Linked DNA regions of Homo sapiens: regions 1, 2 and 4 are each linked to region 3. Evidence: promoter capture Hi-C in 16 types of primary human blood cells and fetal thymus (Javierre and others, 2016). All regions are on one chromosome and are shown on one strand. The core of a region is centred on a gene start or on the middle of the fragment in contact, and the rest is flanking DNA. Distances in the headings are between cores, read along the strand shown. Region 1 holds the start of DLX1 (distal-less homeobox 1). Region 2 overlaps DLX2-DT (DLX2 divergent transcript). Region 3 holds the start of SP9 (Sp9 transcription factor). Region 4 overlaps METAP1D (methionyl aminopeptidase type 1D, mitochondrial).

Evidence for each region. Contacts are between HindIII fragments. The CHiCAGO score rates a contact against its expected background, and 5 or more counts as called.
Region 1: a contact is called between a fragment that was not itself captured here and the fragment with the promoter of SP9 in region 3, in 10 of 17 cell types (naive B cells, total B cells, total CD4 T cells and 7 more). The highest score is 33.0, in naive B cells.
Region 2: a contact is called between a fragment that was not itself captured here and the fragment with the promoter of SP9 in region 3, in 2 of 17 cell types (naive B cells and total B cells). The highest score is 17.9, in naive B cells.
Region 4: a fragment that was not itself captured here is called in contact with the fragment with the promoter of SP9 in region 3 in 5 of 17 cell types (naive B cells, total B cells, total CD4 T cells and 2 more); the score reaches 22.0 in naive B cells.

The regions. Positions count from the first base shown.
Region 1 is chr2:172,083,997-172,088,718 of GRCh38, reverse strand. DLX1 (distal-less homeobox 1) reads right to left here and starts at 3,212. Exons shown (of 3, transcript NM_178120.5): 1 at 2,729-3,212; 2 at 1,866-2,065; 3 at 1-716. The coding sequence starts at 3,041. The coding sequence ends at 462. RefSeq lists enhancers at 1-501, 1,115-1,726, 2,341-2,952, 2,984-3,103, 2,953-3,566 and 2 more and a silencer at 3,384-3,493. The HindIII fragment of the contact is 3,945 bases long and covers 1-3,238 here.
Region 2 is chr2:172,109,644-172,114,138 of GRCh38, reverse strand. It overlaps DLX2-DT (DLX2 divergent transcript), which reads right to left. Exons shown (of 5, transcript NR_126376.1): 5 at 4,157-4,349. Among named protein-coding and RNA genes, the nearest start is that of DLX2-DT, 8.9 kb to the right of the region's middle. The HindIII fragment of the contact is 7,472 bases long and covers 1-4,495 here.
Region 3 is chr2:174,333,110-174,337,321 of GRCh38, reverse strand. SP9 (Sp9 transcription factor) reads right to left here and starts at 2,368. Exons shown (of 2, transcript NM_001145250.2): 1 at 2,209-2,368; 2 at 1-1,215. The coding sequence starts at 2,229. It overlaps LOC102724194 (a long non-coding RNA gene), which reads left to right and starts at 2,346. Exons shown (of 3, transcript XR_427194.5): 1 at 2,346-3,582; 2 at 3,697-3,765. RefSeq lists a silencer at 227-436. The HindIII fragment of the contact is 13,141 bases long and covers 1-4,212 here.
Region 4 is chr2:172,068,101-172,072,386 of GRCh38, reverse strand. It overlaps METAP1D (methionyl aminopeptidase type 1D, mitochondrial), which reads right to left. Exons shown (of 10, transcript NM_199227.3): 6 at 1,317-1,480. Among named protein-coding and RNA genes, the nearest start is that of DLX1, 15 kb to the left of the region's middle. RefSeq lists an enhancer at 1-596. The HindIII fragment of the contact is 1,811 bases long and covers 350-2,160 here.

The DNA of each region.
Region 1 (4,722 bases), core at 17-2,516, 2.2 Mb after region 3:
GCTGAGGCCGCAGAATGAGGACAGCGGACGGATGAGGACCTGGACTTTACCAGCGCACAGACAGAGCAAAAGGAGACAGGAGACTGACAGGACAGAAAAGAGCTTTTGCTTTTTCTACATTTTGTTTTTGTTTTGTTTTTTCCTGATAGTCCCACAAAGCTGAAGGTCGGCGGGTCGGGTGGAGCGGGTTTATCTTGCTGCTTGGGCTGTCTCAGGTGGCAGTGGCTTCCCTCCGAGGCCACTCTCTGCTGCCACTGCTCGGCCCAGGCCAGGGTTCAGGCTAGAGCGCGGATGCCGGGAAGTTGCTGGGCCGGACCTCGCGGGGCTCCGAGGAGATGGAGGGCGTCCCGCCTCCACTGTTCCTTCTTCCCTCTGGGTCCTTCTTTTCCGGACGGGATGGATGGACCTGGAGGCGGGAGGGACCTGGGCCGGGGAGACAAGAAGGAGACGGGCGGGCAACCTCACATAAGTTGGGGTTGCTGCATAGCTTCTTGGTGCGCTGAAGGGTACCACGATGTGTAGCTGGGGATATAGGAGCCCGCGTTTCCTCCTGAGCCCTTCCCGGATGAAGAGTTAGGGTTCCAGCCGGGCGGCACGGGTGGGGAGCCAGCAGACAGGGCCCGACCGTTGGCCAACGCACTACCCTCCAGAGCCGCCCCACCCTGCTTCATCAGCTTCTTGAACTTGGATCGCTTGTTTTGGAACCAGATCTTGACCTGCAAGAGCGGACAACAACGTGACTCAGGCTGGGACCACTGAGCCTACCTAGGTCACAGGGAGGAAAAAAGGGACCGCAGAACAGCAGAGATAGGACCTCCCAACCCTGCGCCAGCTGGCAGCTCCCTGCCAGAGAAGCAGAGACATCCCTCCTTCCTCCCTTCCCCCATAAGAGCCAAAGGCTCGAAGGCCGAACCTCCCGCCGCCGTCAGCCCACGGGGGCAGCTCTCAGAGAGCCAGGGAGGAGTTGTGATGAGGGGAGAACCGGGATCCAGGCCTTAGCCTGCCAGGGGCTCAGTCCGACCGTGGCTACCGCCTGCGGAAGATACAGCGCCTGCATAACACCGAGCCAGCAATTCCAATATCAACATCAATAAAAAGAATCGAAAACCTAGGAAGGAGTGGAGGAAATTTATTTGCAACGCGACCCAACTTTTCTATGCGCCATCTTTTCTGCCCTTGAGTTGGGACGGACTAAGGAGGCCTCAAGGTTTTGCTGAACTTCTCTTTGGATTCAAAACCATTCTTGCACTAGTGTCTGTTTGCTTTCTCCAGCTCTGCTCCAAATCCCGGACCGGACGTCGGAAACCCGCGCCCGCCGCCGTCAGGAACGCTCACGGGCTCCCCGGAGTCTTACAGAAAGCCGGGAAGGAAGGTCCCGTTTCTTCTCTAAGGTCTGGGACTTGAGAGGTGAGAGGGCGGAGGAAAGGATCTCCCCCCACCCCCAACCGGTAAGAAGGAGGAGGAGGAGGGAGGCTGAGGCGCGGACCCAGGCCCCGAGTGATTAGTCACACAATTTAAAGGCAAAGGAGGGATTAAGCCCGGAGTCTATTGTTCCAGTTGTTTAGGCACGTGTGACCTCTGAGTTCCCAAACAAATCGTCTGGGGAAATCCTTCCTGCGCCCTAATCAGATTGTCCAGGGACAGAGGGCCGGACGGCAGGCAGCTCGGGATACCGAGAGCAGTGACAGAGCTAGGGCAGAGGGAATGAGGGAGGAAGGAGACACGCTGAGAGCCAGGGGTGGACACAAACACATACACACAGTGACACCCCGACCCTGAGTCCCAGCGAGCAACAAATGAAGACCCGGGCGCAGGCCGGCCGCGGAAAGCCTGCGTGGCAGAACGGAGCGGCAGCGGCGAGGTACCTGAGTCTGTGTGAGTCCCAAAGAGGCCGCGAGCTCCGCCCTCTCCGGCAGAGCTAGGTACTGAGTTTGCTGGAACCTCCGGTTCAAAGCCTGCAACTGCAAACTGGAATAAATCGTCCTGGGTTTACGGATCTTTTTTCCCTTGCCATTGAAGCGCACTTCACCGCCTTCCACCACCGTGCTCTTCTCCGAGTCCGCCCCTGGAGGGACAGCAGAAGTAGGGCCCGTTGTTAATACGAGGGGCCGCCTTTAGTGCGAACAGCCGAGAGCGAGTGGCTACCGAAGGGTGGCGGAGGCAGCACCAGGGAGAGAACGTTCAAGAAACTCTGAAAGCCAGGGAAGGGTCCCCCAAAATCCGAGGGCCTGTCCCGGGACGCTGCAGGAGGGATAGAGCCGTTCCCAGGAGCTCAGCTCCTGCCTTTGCAGGGAAAGTTTGCTATTTTTGCAGGCGGTAGTTGAGGTTTAATTACCCTTAATTGCATACATTGTTTATAGCGCTACGCAATAAATAATTACCGAGACTAATACGTGCACATGTGGGTTTCTGTTTTCCAGCGGGGCATTGTGTGCTCTGCACACCGAGCCGCCCAGAGGCCCAGCCAGTGCCAGGAGACGCTCTGGGATTTATCCTTGGCTGGATAGTTGCAAATTGAGGGAATTTTTAAAAAAATTTATTTGCTGTGACAAGGATCTATAGATTGATATTCGAAACCTCCACTGCTCCCGCGCCCTCCCCACCCCCACCCCACCTCGCTCTCCTCTCTTCTCTTTCTCTCTCTCTCCCTCTCCTCTTCTCCCCCGCTCCTTCTTTCCCTCTCTCCCTTGTACCTCCTCCTCTCCCTCTCCCTGGCAAGCGCACGTACCTGGGTCCTCCAGGCGGCTCTGGGCGAGGCTGGCGCTGCCCGGGTAGGACTGCACCGAACTGATGTAGGGGCTGGATGCGTGGCTGCTGACCGAGTTGACGTAGGGGTAGCCCAGCGGTCGGGAGAAGGACGAGGCTGAGCTGTAGGCGCCGTCGGGCTGCGAATGGCCCGCCGAGTGTAAACAGTGCATGGAGTAGTGCCCGTGGGACATGGGAGAAGGAGACATTTGCTGGTTGGGCGGCCCAAACTCCATAAACACCGCCTTGCCCGACACGGGGCTGTTGAGACTTTCTGGCATGGTGGTCATGGTCATCTCTTCTCGCGGGGTCTGGGTGTGGGACTTTCTCTCCTCTGCTTCCCTTTTGGGGGTCTCTATGTTTCTCAGGACAGGAAGGAACCCAATTTAAGCGGAACAGGGGTTTTCACTTTCCATTCATAAGAAAATGGAGTTTGTCTCTTTGAAAAGTCTAAGCATGATGCTGCTGAGCTCCCCAAACTCGGTTCAAAGCTTTGACTCAGCGAAGGTCATAAATATTCATGAGCTGGCGGAGCTGATTGGTCCGCTGTCTTGCATAATCACTGGGGATTGGTCCGAGGCGCTCGGGCTCCGCTGGACTAGAGCGGGCGAGGCGGCCCGGCCTCGGGTAAGACGCATCCACACTTCCCGGCCGGGGCTCCTCTGCAACAGAGCGCGCCGGGCAGGAAGCACAATGGGCTGCGGCGTCTGCGCCGGGGCCCCTGCGGCCCGCGGCTCATCGGCCTCCCGCCTCCCTCGCGCGCTTTCCTCCCCAGGAACCAACCAGCGGCTCCGCGCCGCCGCCCCCCTACCACTGTCCCCACCCTTCAGCGGTCCCTAACACCGGACACCCGGGACCGCTTCTCGTCGCTGCCACTCAGTTCGGCGCAGAGCTAGGGCGGCTCAGGAGGAGACTGACCTCTGCCTCTGGAGCGCGGAGTCGCGCACTGGGGGCGCCCGAGGCGGCCAACAGACAGAGGTTCTCCTAAGAGCCTTGTGCCTAGCGCAGCGCCTATCCGGCCGCGCCTCCCCGGTACGCTCTGCCGCATCCCTGGAGTCGGGGCTTAGGGGCCCTCCCTGCGAACTCACTCACTCGGCCGCTGCGCCAACGCCGCTGTCGCTCCCTGGGGCCCGCTCGCATTGCTCCAGGCCCAGCTGGCCACTCCAGCTCGAGGCTGCACGGGTCTGATTAAAGCAGTGCGCGTGGAGAGCCAGGAACCCGCGCTTCTCCTCCCAGGAAAGGCGGCTGCACCGCCCCCTCCCCCAACACACACATCCTCTTTCCCTCCCAGCCTTCCTCCTCCTCCCCCTCCCTTCTCCACTCCCCATGCGCGGAGAGCCCCGGGCTCACTCGCCCCGAGAGCGCGGCTCAGCGTGGAGCCCAGGGGGCCTAGGGGCTCAGATCTGCTGGAGCCACCGACGCCAGGTGGTCATTTTCCGGCCTCCTGAGGTCTAGCGCGACTTCCAGAGTTTAGGAGTCCCTGGGGGACACCGAAACCCGCAGCAAACCCAGGCCTGTGGTAGGCTCCCTTATCTATGTGTAGACGTCTCTCGTTGCCACCCAGGATCTTCCTCACCTCCAGTGGCCAAAGCGCGCGCCACCAGGCCTAGGGGGCAGGGCTAGTGGAGGCAAGATCTGCCGCTGCTCCTTCTGTCTTCTGGGGTGCTAGGTACAAAAAAGTGCACAAGAGCCCCCACCCCATCGCCACTACTACCAATACAGCCAGTCCCTCGCGGTGTGGCGTACACCACCCTGGCTGTAAGTGGATGTTGGTTCCCCATCCCGCCAGCCCCACGGTGAATCCCAAATTACTTTGTTAGGTAATTAGAAAGTGTTGATAATTATTTCTTTCATAATTTAGCGGTGTGACGGGAACGGGGAAATGATCTTGTGAAAGTTCACACGTGCAGATGTATTAGTTACTGATTCATTTGATTAAATGGTAGTCTCAAGTGCTCAGATCCGCAGCTGAAGGCG
Region 2 (4,495 bases), core at 781-3,280, 2.2 Mb after region 3:
TGGGGAGGCTGAGGTAGGAGAATCACTTGAACCTGGGAGATGGAGTTTGCAATGAGCTGAGATCACGCCACTGCACTCCAGCCTGGGCGACAGAGCAAGACTCTGTCTCAAAAAAAGAAAAAAAAAGGAAAAAAGAAAAAAAGAAATGCCCAAGATGAAACTACAAGGATACAACAGTCAGAGCTGTAAAGTCTAGCTGCCCCTTCCCCCACAGGCTGTCACACACACAGCACTTTTCGTATACTAATATGTGCAATTTGTTAGCTTTACTATGAATTGGGTCGATGTAGATGAAGACCCTAAATGACCACTGGGTGTCATCACTGTCTTACACAAGACTTGGTGTGGCTCCTTAGTATTCAATCTTTTCTGGAATGTGGTGATAAATTGTGCTCAGTTCTAAATGAAACCAAAGCATATCATCAATTCAGAACTTAGCTATGTAGTAACACCAGCAAGGAGTACACAACTGAGGACTGGGAAATAGGCAAAAACAATGTCTTGAAATGGCCCAAAATGACATCCCAAAGTTCATTCACTTAAGTTTGCGTACTTTCCTCAAATGAAAGCCATTTGGGCCCTTTTAGTGGGAAGTTTCCTTTTTTTTTTAATTTTCTTTTTCCTATTTGAAGTTATTTCATTATTAGCACCTCTTCTCTTTGTGCTGCCTTTGCCTTGTTCATTCCATTATCCTAGGCACTGTCGTCCAAAAAAGACTAAAGTAGTAAGTTGGCTTATCACCCCATGACAACTCCTAAGCATAATAAGCATGTGCCCAAGGCAAGAGTGACACTGACATGGAGGGGAGGGTCCCATGTGGCACAGTGACAAAATTTCTGCAATCCATCACCTTTAAAAGGAAACGCATATGATTTGGGCTTAGAAGTGAAAGAACCCCACTAATGATCATTAAAGACTTATGTTCCTAAGGATAACAACCAGCTATGCTAACCTCTTTCTATTCATGGACTGAATGCACCTAGGAATCAAATGGTTTCAGGTCTGTGCTTGGCTTCCCATTCATCTGGTTTTCACAGATAAAGGATGTTCTGGACTTTTTCCTGTAATTTTTTCCTAACAAAGTCATTGCATCCTAACTTCAAGGTCATGGTATTAGCTATAGTAGATAAGCTGCCATATATATATGTTTGTGTATAGATATATATATGTGTGTGTACATATATATATGTGTGTATATATATGTGTGTGTGTATATATATAATCCCAAAAGTCAGTATCTTAAAATGTAAGTTTATTTCTTGGTCAGATAACCTTCCAAACAAGTGATGAAGATTCCCCTAGGCGGTGAGTCCCCTAGGGCCTCTAGGAGACTCTAGGGCCATGTCATCTTCATAGTTGAAGCTGGTTCCAGACAGCGGAAGGAAAAAGAGAGCAGAGAGGAGTCTCAACTCTGCCTAAAAGGTCCTGTCCTGGGAGAGGCACACATGGCTTCCACTTATGTTCCATTCTCTTGGATTGAATGACATGGTTACACATAAGTGCAAAGGGGGCTAGGGAGTAGTTTAGCTGCATTCCCCAAAAATCAGATTTGAGAGACAACACTTGGTCCATTCCACAACTATCCTTCAGTAGTCTAAGTGAAGTTTTGTTCAATTAAACATTAAACAGAGGCACAGAAAAGTTAAATAACTTTCCCTAATTTACACAGTTAGCAAGTAGCCAAGTTAGGATTTAAGCCCAGAGCCCATACTTTTAACCACTGTATATATTAACTCTAAAAGTATTAACATCTAAAAGTATTGGCATCTATAGGCCGGGCGCGGTGGCTCACGCCTGTAATCCCAGCACTTTGGGAGGCCGAGGCGGGCAGATCACGAGGTCAGGAGATTGAGACCATCCTGGCTAACATGGTAAAACCCTGTCTCTACTAAAAATACAAAAAATTAGCCGGGTGTGATGGCGGGCACGTGTAGTCCCAGCTACTTGGGAGGCTGAGGCAGGAGAATGGCATGAACCCAGGAGGCGGAGGTTGCAGTGAACCGAGATCGCGCCACTGCACTCCAGCCTGGGTGACAGAGCGAGACTCCGTCTCAAAAAAAAAAAAAAGTATTGGCATCTATAATCATGACCTGAAGGCCCAGAAGCCATAAAAAAAAAAGAGTCACATATTTGACCATACAAAACTTAAAATCTCTGAACTAGAAAAGAGAATAAACAAAAGTAAAAGAGAAGCAATTAACTTGGAATTAATATTGACTATAAACACAATAATGAGTTAATCTCCAAAATATGTAATAATTTCCTGTAAATCAATTTTTTAAAAACAGAAAAATGGGCAGAGAACAAAAATAGGCAATTCACAGAAGAAAATAAAATGCCTATATAAAAACACAAGCCAAGCATGCGATGGCACATGCCTGTAGTCCCAACTACTCTGGAGGCTGAGGCAGGAGGATCACTTGAGCCCAGGAGTTCAAGATCAGCCTGGACAAAATATAGCAGAGCATCCCTCTCTAAAATAAAATAAAATAAAAAAGACACACACTCTACTAATGTAAAGCCTTTGCAAGTTAAAATATGGCACTATTTTAAGCCTATCATATTCAAAAAACACTGAAGATTCCTAATATTCTTGGTGAGAGTGCTCAGAAATGAGTATAGAGCTTAAATTGCTTGTTTTTTAAGGGGAGCTTAGTGGTAGCTATTAAAATGTTGACATACAATTCAGTTACTAGGATTCTAGTTTACAAATATAATTGAACATGTGGGCAAAGCTCTCCAGAAGACATTCACTCATGTGTTGTTTGTAAATATCGGAAATCATCTAGATGACAAGGCAAAGAAGATAGTCAAATAAATGATGATACCTTCCTCACACATTCACCTTAAGAAGAAAATGATTGCTCTGTAACGACTGACATAGAAAGAAAAGATTTCTTTTTTTTTTTTTTTTGAGACGGAGTCTCGCTGTCGCCCAGGCTGGAGTGCAGTGGCGCAATCTCGGCTCACTGCAGGCTCCGCCCCCTGGGGTTCACGCCATTCTCCTGCCTCAGCCTCCCGAGTAGCTGGGACTACAGGCGCCCGCCACCTCGCCCGGCTAATTTTTTGTATTTTTAGTAGAGACGGGGTTTCACCGTGTTAGCCAGGATGGTCTCGATCTCCTGACCTCGTGATCCGCCCGCCTCGGCCTCCCAAAGTGCTGGGATTACAGGCGTGAGCCACCGCGCCCGGCCAAGATTTCTAAAAAATAAAAATGCTAGCCAGTCGCAGTGGCTCACACCTATAATCCCAGCACTTTGGGAGGCCGAGGCGGGCGGATCACTTGAGGTCAGGAGTTGGAGACCAGCCTGGCCAACGTGGTGAAACCCTATCTCTACTAAAACTACAAAAATTAGCTGGGCATGGTGGCACGCGCCTGCAATTCCAGCTACTCGGGAGGCTGAGGCAGGGGAATCACTTGAACCTGGAAGGCAGAGGTCGCAGTGAGCCAAGATGCACCACTGCACTCCAGCCTGGGCAACAAGAGGGAAACTCCGTCTCAAAAGAAAATAAATAAATAAATAAATAAATAAATAAATAAAAGAAATAGAAATACAAATAAAAATGCTTACGTGTTTACACATTTGAAACATGCACAGGGTTTTATGCATTTGAAAACGCGTGCACAAGTACATGCAAACAATCTGACATGACTGCCTAGGGTCAGTTCCCTGTGAATAACCTGCAAGGTTCTTCCCTCTGCTCCCCTCTCCATTTTCAAAGAAGCGAGCAGAAGCAGCCCAGGTGTAGCACACAGGGAAACTACAGAGAGGCTTGTCAAGGCGGGACTTTGCCCCGCTTACTGAATGGGGCAGTCCTTGCCGCACGGGTTAGGAGCAGTATTTGGCCTTTCCAAACTTCAGTGCTGCAGGCGGGCCCTGCACTTCCCCATCCACAGTGCCTGACGGCTTCACAATGCCCCTGGACCACCCACTGCCGCCTCGGAGGCCCACGCCCAAATCCCCTGGCCTGGCCTGGTCCACTGGATCCCGGAAACAGCGTCTGCCTTCACCTTGGCTGCCGCCAGGACAAGGCCTGCTTAGACACGAGTGAGAAAAGTGGGCCTACACCCTCTCCGCCTGGGCCTCCCTCCGCGGTTTAAAACCCATTCCGCTGAGGCCCGAGAACGCCGAGTGTCGCGGTAAACCTGGCGGCGATGAACCTATAATGGTGTATTTCCAGGCAATAATCCCACAAGGAAGAGCTCAGTATCACCTGCATTCCACAGATGCAAACGACGAAGCACAGAAATATTCAGTCCTTTCCCCAAGGCCACAAAGTCTGGCTCCCGAGCACACGTGTCAGCACATCCTCTTCACATCCAAAGGAGGTGGCACAACCCTTTTGTTCTAAAATGAGAGAGTGGAAAGAAAGACTCTGTGAAAGAGAAGGGAATTTTGTGTCCAAGGGTAGTTTCTAAGTTCCAGAGTTTTCCTTCCTAGTTCTCCCGTTTGTTGGTTGTGGTGATGGTGGTGGCGGTGGTGTGTGTGTGTGT
Region 3 (4,212 bases), core at 1,119-3,618:
CTTAATGTGTTTGCTCAGGTGGTCGCTGCGCATGAAGCGCTTGTTGCACACCGGACAGGCGAAGCGCTTCTCGCCCGTGTGAGTCCGCAGATGCCGCTGCAGCTCGTCCGAGCGCGTGAAGCGCTTGCCGCAGAAGAGCCAGTTGCACACGAAGGGCCGCTCGCCCGTGTGCCAGCGCAGGTGCGCCTTCAGGTGCGACGTCTTCCCGTACACCTTGCCGCAGCCCGGAATGTGGCAGCTGTGCAGGCCCTTGCGCCGCAGGCTCGCCCCGGCCGGGCCCAGCCGCTCCGCCTCCTGGCAGTTGGGGCAGTCGCAGGTGGCGCGGCCCGAGTAGCGGCGGGCAGAGCGTGCCGAGCTCCCCCCGGCGGCGGCAGCCGCGGCGCCCGATATCATGGCGCTGGCGGCGGCGGCTGCCACGGCGGCGCTGGAGTCCGAATAGGAGGGCAACACCGGCTTGAAGCCGTCCTGGGCCAGCAGGTGCTGGCTGGTGGAGAGCAGGTGGGAGGCGGCGGCGGCGGAGGAGCCGAGGCCCGTGGAGCTGAAGGCGGAGTGCGTGAGCGAGCTGAAGTCGGGGTTGTAGGTGCCCAGCTGCGAGTGCAGCGAGGCCTGGGGGGCGCCCGAGTGCAGCGAGCTCTGGAGCCCCCCAGCGGGGTTCTGCACTTCCAGCCACGAGCCCGGGCTGCTGTGCACGTCCCACCACGACGACGCCGCGCCGTTGGTCACCTCGCCGGCCGCCAGCGTCGAATGGAAGCCCGACTTGTACCAGGACTCGTACGGGTGCGCCATGCCCACGCGCGGGTACAGCCCGTCGGCTGCCGTCGTGTGCACCTTGGAAATGAAGGCCGACTGGCCACCCGCCTCCTGCGGGGACACCCCGGCCGCTGCCGCCGCGGCAGCCGCCGAGTTGGAGAAGAGGCCGCCGTAGTCGCTGCTGAAGGCGGACGACGTGGGCGACGTGGAGGCCAGGCAGAAGGCGCTGTTGGCGGCGCCCGAGCCGCCCGCCAGGCCGCCCGAGCCACGGCCCCCGGTGGCCACCGCGAAGCCCGAGAGGCTGGAGCCGAGGTTGCAGCTGGACGAGGAGCGCTTCCAGGGGTGAAAGCCGCCTTTGGCGAAGGCGCTCGACTCTGGCAGCGTCGTCAGCGGGCTCGTGTTGCCGATCTTGTTGCAGGTCGCCGCCAGCATGGCCAACGGGGTCGTTCCGAAGCGCGGCTCTTCCTAGAGTGGGTGGGATGGGGGAGGGAGCAAGAAGGAGGAGGGCAAGAGGAAGTGGGGGAAGAAACAAAGTGCACCCGTGAGCAGCCTCGTCCCCTGCGGCTGCTCCCGGGGGGTCCTGGCTCCCCGCCTCGCGCCTCCTCCCCACGCGCCCGCGGAGGAGTCGCCGCACCGGGCGCGGAGCAGGGGCGATCACCCGGGCGAAGGTCCAGGCGCCGGAAAGTTGCACTTCGCTGAGGCTATAAATCAAAGATGCCTCCGTGTTCCCCGCTGCAACCCTGCCTACAACCGGACTTGGGTTGTCGCCGTAAACCGGCTCATCTCCCAGAAGACCCCAAGTCGCCCTTCGGGGTGAAGCGCGAAGGTAAACACAGAGACCAGAGACAACAAACACCGGGTGAGGGCGGAGGCGGCCGAAACAGCTGCCAGGGACGGGCGAAACTTGCAGCTCTCCCAGGGTGGCTACGACTTGACTTTTCTTTTTTAATAGAAAACGTTTGGTTTTAAAGTTTACATACACACAAAAACAGCGATTATGAAAACAATAATCCGAGGATAAGCGGCCAGAGACAGATTTCAAAGTCATGGGCGAATTGGGGAGCCGCGGAAATGTAAATGTTTATTAGCGTGACTAGATGGACTGCAAAACGATTAAGACTGTTTTCTGGAAACACCATTGTCGCATAATTGCAACAAAATCCCCAAAGCAATGCGGGGGATGGGGTATAAATCACGAGGGGAAGAAAAGAAACCTCTAGCTTTTTTTTGAAACCAAATGAAAAAGGACTTGATTAAGAAGGCCTTTTCTTGCAAAGGCATCTTTCTGGGTTCCAAAAACTTGGGGAAAAATCAGTCCCAGAAATGTGGAAAGTGCTAATAGAAGCTGAAGCTGCAGTCTAGCAGCAACAGTTTCTCCGGAGCCGCAGACCCCAGAAGCCATAACGAAAAATTACTCCGGTTAAAACAAGCAAATGCGTTGCCGCGCTTGCGACTTACCCCGAGTATAGACGTGGCCATAGCAGGTCTCTGGCTGCGCAGCGAGGCTGGGAGCGGGGCTGAGCCTGGCGGCTGCTCGGAAAAACTGCTTGGGTCCCGCGCGGCTCCCGCGTCCCCGCGCTCGTGCCGAGCGGACTCCAGGCTCCCGCCGGCTAAACTCAGCCTAAGTGCGAGGAGCACCCGCTTTGAAGTGCCGCTGGCTGCGCCTCTCGCCCAATGAGGGCGCAGGCAGAGCAGACCGGAGCTGCCCCGCAGCCAATCAGACGCTCCGAGGGGCCCGAGCCCGGGCTCCCGGCGCGTGCCAGTCAAGTCAGCTAGCTAGGGCCGCGGGGGTGGGGGGGAGTAGTGGGGGATACTTGCGGGGGGGGGGCGAGGGCGGGCTGGGGACTGAAGAAATTACAGTGCAATTAAAAATTTACACTCACGCACCAAGCCAGGTTTAAGTACCAATGAAACCGAGCCACAAGCACCCCCCCACACACAAACCACCCCGAGATGTTGCAAGTTAGGGCTGACAGTCCTACTCGACTCCCCACTTGTAGGAAAGGAGGCAGGAGGGGAGGAGACACCCAGACACAGCCCGCACCAGCAGGGCCCAAGTGGAGACGGAAATGTGAGCCCTCACTTTGTGTGTCCAGGCTTTTGCCTACAGAACACAACTTCAGCTTGTATCTATCATTCTTGCTTGTGATTTTTATCATTTTCGTGTGTCTTCTACCCAATTCCTTATTCCACTAGATTCAATTTCACTCTCACAGTTATACTGGGGAGGGGGCGCGAAGGGACAGCTCCTCCGAGAGGAGCGAAATAGGCCTCTCTGTACAGATCTACATCCACAGATTTGTTGGGAGGGCCTGGAGCCTGCTGCATCCCGCCATTTCCCCCCAGCGGTGTAAGTGACTTCCTAATTGTCGCTCTGGCCTCTGACCCGGGGGGTAATACAAGTGCCACTCACGCTAGAGGCTTCTGGTGGTAATTGAGGGCACCCTTTGTACGGTTTCGCCAGCGCTTAGATACCAGGTTAACCCAGTTGTCAAATATGACTAAACAGTGGGATGTGCTGATTATCTGCCGGGTTTTGCTGTGGGCTGGCATGGGGGTGGGAGGCATCAGCCCATACAACACGCTGCACGAAGCCGCTTATTTTCTCACTGTAACAACTTTGGAAACAGAGACCGGCGCGAGCGGCGTCCGCCCCCACCTCCACCTCCGCTGAAGCTGCAGCTTGCTCGGCTGTTTGTTTAACCCGGTGAAGATTTGCATGTCGCGTTTCATCCTGGAGTGGAGTTTTCTTGTCCCAGCTCCAACCCACTCCCATTCCAGACCACCAGGGCCTAGAGGCTCGTCCGTAGGGCAAGTGCGCTGTTTTAAGAGGTAGGCTCCCCATTAGTGCCCTGCTTTCACGGACGCGCCCGAGAAATCTCTCCAGGACTTTCACCCGGGAGGGCGGAGGACCAGGCCACACGTGGGCGCTTCCACATTTTGCAGGCTGGAAGCATCCTGAAGTCCTCCCTGGACCTTGTCAGTGTGAAAAGAGGCGTCCTCAAGCAGACCAGGGTGCGTCTTCGAGTCCCCCAGCAACCGCTGACCTGCTTGTTTTTCTCTTTCTGGGCCCCGCTTTCTCTTTCTTCTCCAGGGTAGCCAGAAGCTGTTTTTGAACCAGAAATACCAGCGCCCTCGGGCAGACCTGGGCACTGGTTTTAATATAGCACACTCCCCACTAAACCCACACCCTGCTTCTTAGGAAAAAAAAAAAATTAAACTACCAACCCCAAACCCTCGGGTGCAAACGACGAGTTGTCGCGGAGCCGGTGCAAGTGACAAGGATGTGGAACTGTGCCTCCCGTGTTTTCTCTCCTCTTTTGCAAGATCTCTTGACCCAAAAGTACGACCAGAGTGGCGCTGCTCTCGGCCCTGTGATGGAGCCTGGGTGCGTCTTGGCGCACTCCGTGGGTGGGGAGGGCTATGTGGGTCGCTTTCTTGGATTCATCTTAAAATACTTTG
Region 4 (4,286 bases), core at 6-2,505, 2.3 Mb after region 3:
CTTGAATAAGAATCTAGTGTTCTCTGCCCCCTTCTACTGAAGAATAAATTTTGTTAAAATGCAAGAGCACCACCAGTAAATTTGTTGAACCCTAGGTGTTCAAAAATATGAGGTGCATCTATCGACTCATCCCATTTGCAAAAATAAAACTGCATTTTGAATTCATTTCTATTATATTCATGGACAGTAAGATAGTGAGATATGCATTAAATTTCTTTTCCCAGTAGGGGTCTGATTCAACATTTCCTATGAAAGAACAGAGAGACACTATCCTTTTTTCCCAGGCTAGTTAGCCTATAATTTAAAACTGTCAAAAACACAATTTTGTTCAAAGTCTTCAATAAAAGCTTCTCAGATATAACCCAAAGAGATTTTACTAAAGTTTGATTCAGACACTGTTACAATATTTTTAAAGCCATAAATACATTTAACTGATATTTTACTGGCTTTTTTCTTAAAGTATTTGAAGGCTTACGAAGAAAAAAAGGCAGCATCTTTTCAAGGTGACTAAGCCTTCCATCCTTTAGACAAATGGGAAGTATTCAATGGTTCATATTAATGAGAACAGTACTTTAAAGGGCACTGATGTGATCATCTTTAACAGAATGCATTACTTTAAAATGAAAACATATATTCGGCATGTCTACTTCAAAACAGTTATGGGGGAAAAAAGACCTAAAAGTAGGTAACAGATTATAAAGAAAAGTCTTAAATTCAGAAAACACACATACACATACATTCAAAAAGTAAGGATAGAATACTCTGTGAAAAATAAACAACGGTTTACAGGAAAAATGAACCAGACAAAAAAAGAACAGAAGATCACCGTTTCAGGCTATTTGTTAATCTACCAATTTGAAAGGTAAGGCTTGCTTGAACTAACACTTTATTATCTTCATATCACAGAAATACATTTCACTTCATTCCTTTATAAAATTTAGTTTTTCTCCTGTCTTATTAAAAACCCCAGGGTTGAGATGCTCATCCCCTTCTTAGGTACTCCCTTCCATATTTGGTGTGATTTTGAATAAAGGGAAACTATAGACCAGTATGTCAAGCTAAAACAAAAGCAGCCATGTAAATATTGCTTGCTCCTTCTATAAGTTTCTTTGCTGACCCTGGTATAATTCATTTTTATAAAATCTTTTTTTTTTTTCAACTCAGGGAACAATATTGCAGCCTGGCAGTTCACATACTGATATCAGACTGAAATGATGGTTCTGAATCATAAAACATGTCATCAACTTTATACCAAGCCACCAATAACCTTTGTACCATTTGCCAACCCTCCCTTTACTTGTCAATGTAAGGCTTACCTGATTGTGTTTCCAATTACAGAGAAGGGAGCCCCTGCTCTGCAAGCTGCAATTGCTTCATCTCTACACCTCCTGGCAACCTCCACTAACTTTTTACCACATTCGTCCACATTGCCCACCAAAAATGTTTCAGAGGTGTCTCCATGGTAGCCATTGTAATAGACCTAAACATAAGCAGAAATTTAAAAATATGTCCTTGTTTAAAAATCTACTTTCCTAAAGTATACATTGTATTCATTTATGTATTTAGTAGACTCATGTTTTACCCTTCCAGAATTATTCATTTGCCTATCAAAAAAAGAAGAAATAGATATATTGAAACCTTGCAGAAATTTAAAAGATGAAGCCATGCAATGATATTGCAAAATTTAAAAACAACTATGTTAACTAGTATGGTTATTTCAGCATTATGATGAACAATACTACTGTAATATTTTGATTCCTCACTTTATTTCTGAGAAGACAAAATTATATAAGCAAAAATTAGTAGCCAAAGACCTTGATCTACAATTACCACAACAGGTTTAGAGAACCAAAAAGTATTTAACATAGTGAAAAGTTTCTTCAATGTCATGAAGACTTACTTGATTTTGTATTTACCAGTTCTACATTTGAAGTGATATATAATGACAAGAAGAAGTAAGATAGACATGTCTGTATTCTAACAAACAAATAGGAGAATTCAGTTCTAAGAATTGAAGTGGTTCCATATAGGAATGAAATGTGTTACAGAAAAATCCTATGTCTAGAAGTGAAATCTTAATCAAATGTTCCAGACAGCCGAACGTTAACAGAAAGCACTATATATGGATATCTAAAGAATTAGAATATAATAAAACAAGCTTAAAAGCACAATTACAGAAAGTATAATTTTATCAGTCTTCAGTGATTCAGAAGCCAAGTAGGATCTTGAAAGATACCAGATTCATTATAAATCATTGATAACCAAGCACTATAGTAAATATAAAAGGCAGAGGCAACTGTTTGGATACTGATCCTTTGATGTAGCATGGAATTTGCTACTTTGCATAAATTTGTCCTATCTAATTATTTTTCACATTTCTCTTGCTCATAAGGTAGAATGTAGAAACTGTTATAAAAAAGATGTTTATATGAGCTTTCAGTCTGTTGTGATACTGAATTAATGTCTTAAATCTGTATACTACTCTGCATTTCTTAAAAAATGCTCTCATATTCTGTGAAGGAAGCAAGAAAGGTCTTTATTAGATCTTCAGTTTATAATTCAGGAAACTGAGGCACAGATAAGTAACTTGTTTAAGGTTGGTGGCAGAATATAGAGGTAGATTCAGGTTAATATGATGGATTATTGGCTTCTAATCGAGTGTTTTCTCTACTATATCAAATTATCTTAATTACCTTGCAACAGAATAGTGTTTTATACATTTACTCCCACTTACAGTCCTTTGCAATCCAGGAAAGTATGAGTTTTTATTTTATACACTTGGCAGTATTTCACTTTGCTTCATAGGTTTTACAATTTTGAAATAGTTTGAATGTTAATAATGAAACTATTAAAAGTCTTCAGGAAACTTAGAAAAGGAATAGAGTATTCTCTTTGGACACATTGGAAACAGTAGGGAAGACTATGCTGATTTCGTTCAAAAATTCAAATTTTTATATTCTTATATTTCATTCAAAATACAAGAATACTATTTCAAAATACAAAATACGATTTCATTCAAAATACAAGAATATAAAATTTGCTAATATAGGCGTAGTCAAGAAAATGTATAAATGAATGTTTATATAACTGCTTTTTAAGTAAAAATGTACTATTTTAAAAAATCTTTATTCATCTTTTCATATTACTTTTTCCTAGCTTTGAAAATGATTACTTGAGGCTGGGTGCAGTAGCTCACGCCTGCAATCCTTTGGGAGGCTGGGATGAGAGGATTGCGTGAGACCAGGAGTTTAAGACCAGCTTGGGAAACATAGTGAAACCCCATCTCTACAAAATTAAAAAATTAACCAGGTGTGGTGGCACACGCCTGTAGTTCTAGCTACTTGGGAGGCTACGGTAGAAGGATCACTTGAGCCCAGGAGTTCAAGCTTACAGTAAGCCATGATGGCACCACTGCACTGCATCCTGAGTGACAGAGCAAGACCCTATATCTGAAAAAGTAAAAAAAGAAAAGGAAACAAAGAAAAAGAAAAAGAAAGGAAGGGAGGAAGGGAGGGAGGAAGGGAGGAACGAAGGAAGGAAGGAAGGAAGGAAGGAATATCAAAATGACTATTTGAGACTGGTGCAGTGGCTCACACCCATAATTCCAGCACTTTGGGAGGCGGAGGTGGGCGGATCACTTGAGGTCAGGAGTTCAAGACCAGTCTGGCCAACATGGTAAACCCAGCCTCTACTTAAAATACAAAAATTAGCTGGGTGTGGTGGCGTGTGCCTGTAGTCTCAGTTACTGGGGAGGCTGAGGCAGGAGAATCACTTGAACCCTTAAGGCGGAGTTTGCAGTGAGCTGAGATCCTGCCATTGTGCTCCAGCCTGGGCAACAGAGGGAAACTCCGTCTGAAAAAAAAAAAGACTACTTAAAAGATTCACTATATACAGAAATACAATACTTTTGAAAGTCTGTGGCAGTCATCTACAATTTCTATTTATACCCATAAACTAGTACTTGTACTTCATTTATTTATTTATTTATTTTTTGAGACAGAGTCTCGCTCTGTCACCCAGGCTGGAGTGCAGGGGCGCGATCTCAGCTCACTGCAACCTCTGCCTCTCAGGTTCAAGCAATTCTCCCTGCCTCAGCCTCCTAAGTAGCTGGGATTAGAGGCTCCTGCCCCCACACAGGGCTAATTTTTATATTTTTAGTATTTTTAGTAGAGATGGGATTTCACCATGTTGGCCAGGCTGGTCTTGAACTCCTGACCTCAGGTGATCCGCCTGCCTTGGCCTCCCAAAGTGCTGGGATTTCAGGCATGAGCCACTGCGCCTGGCCC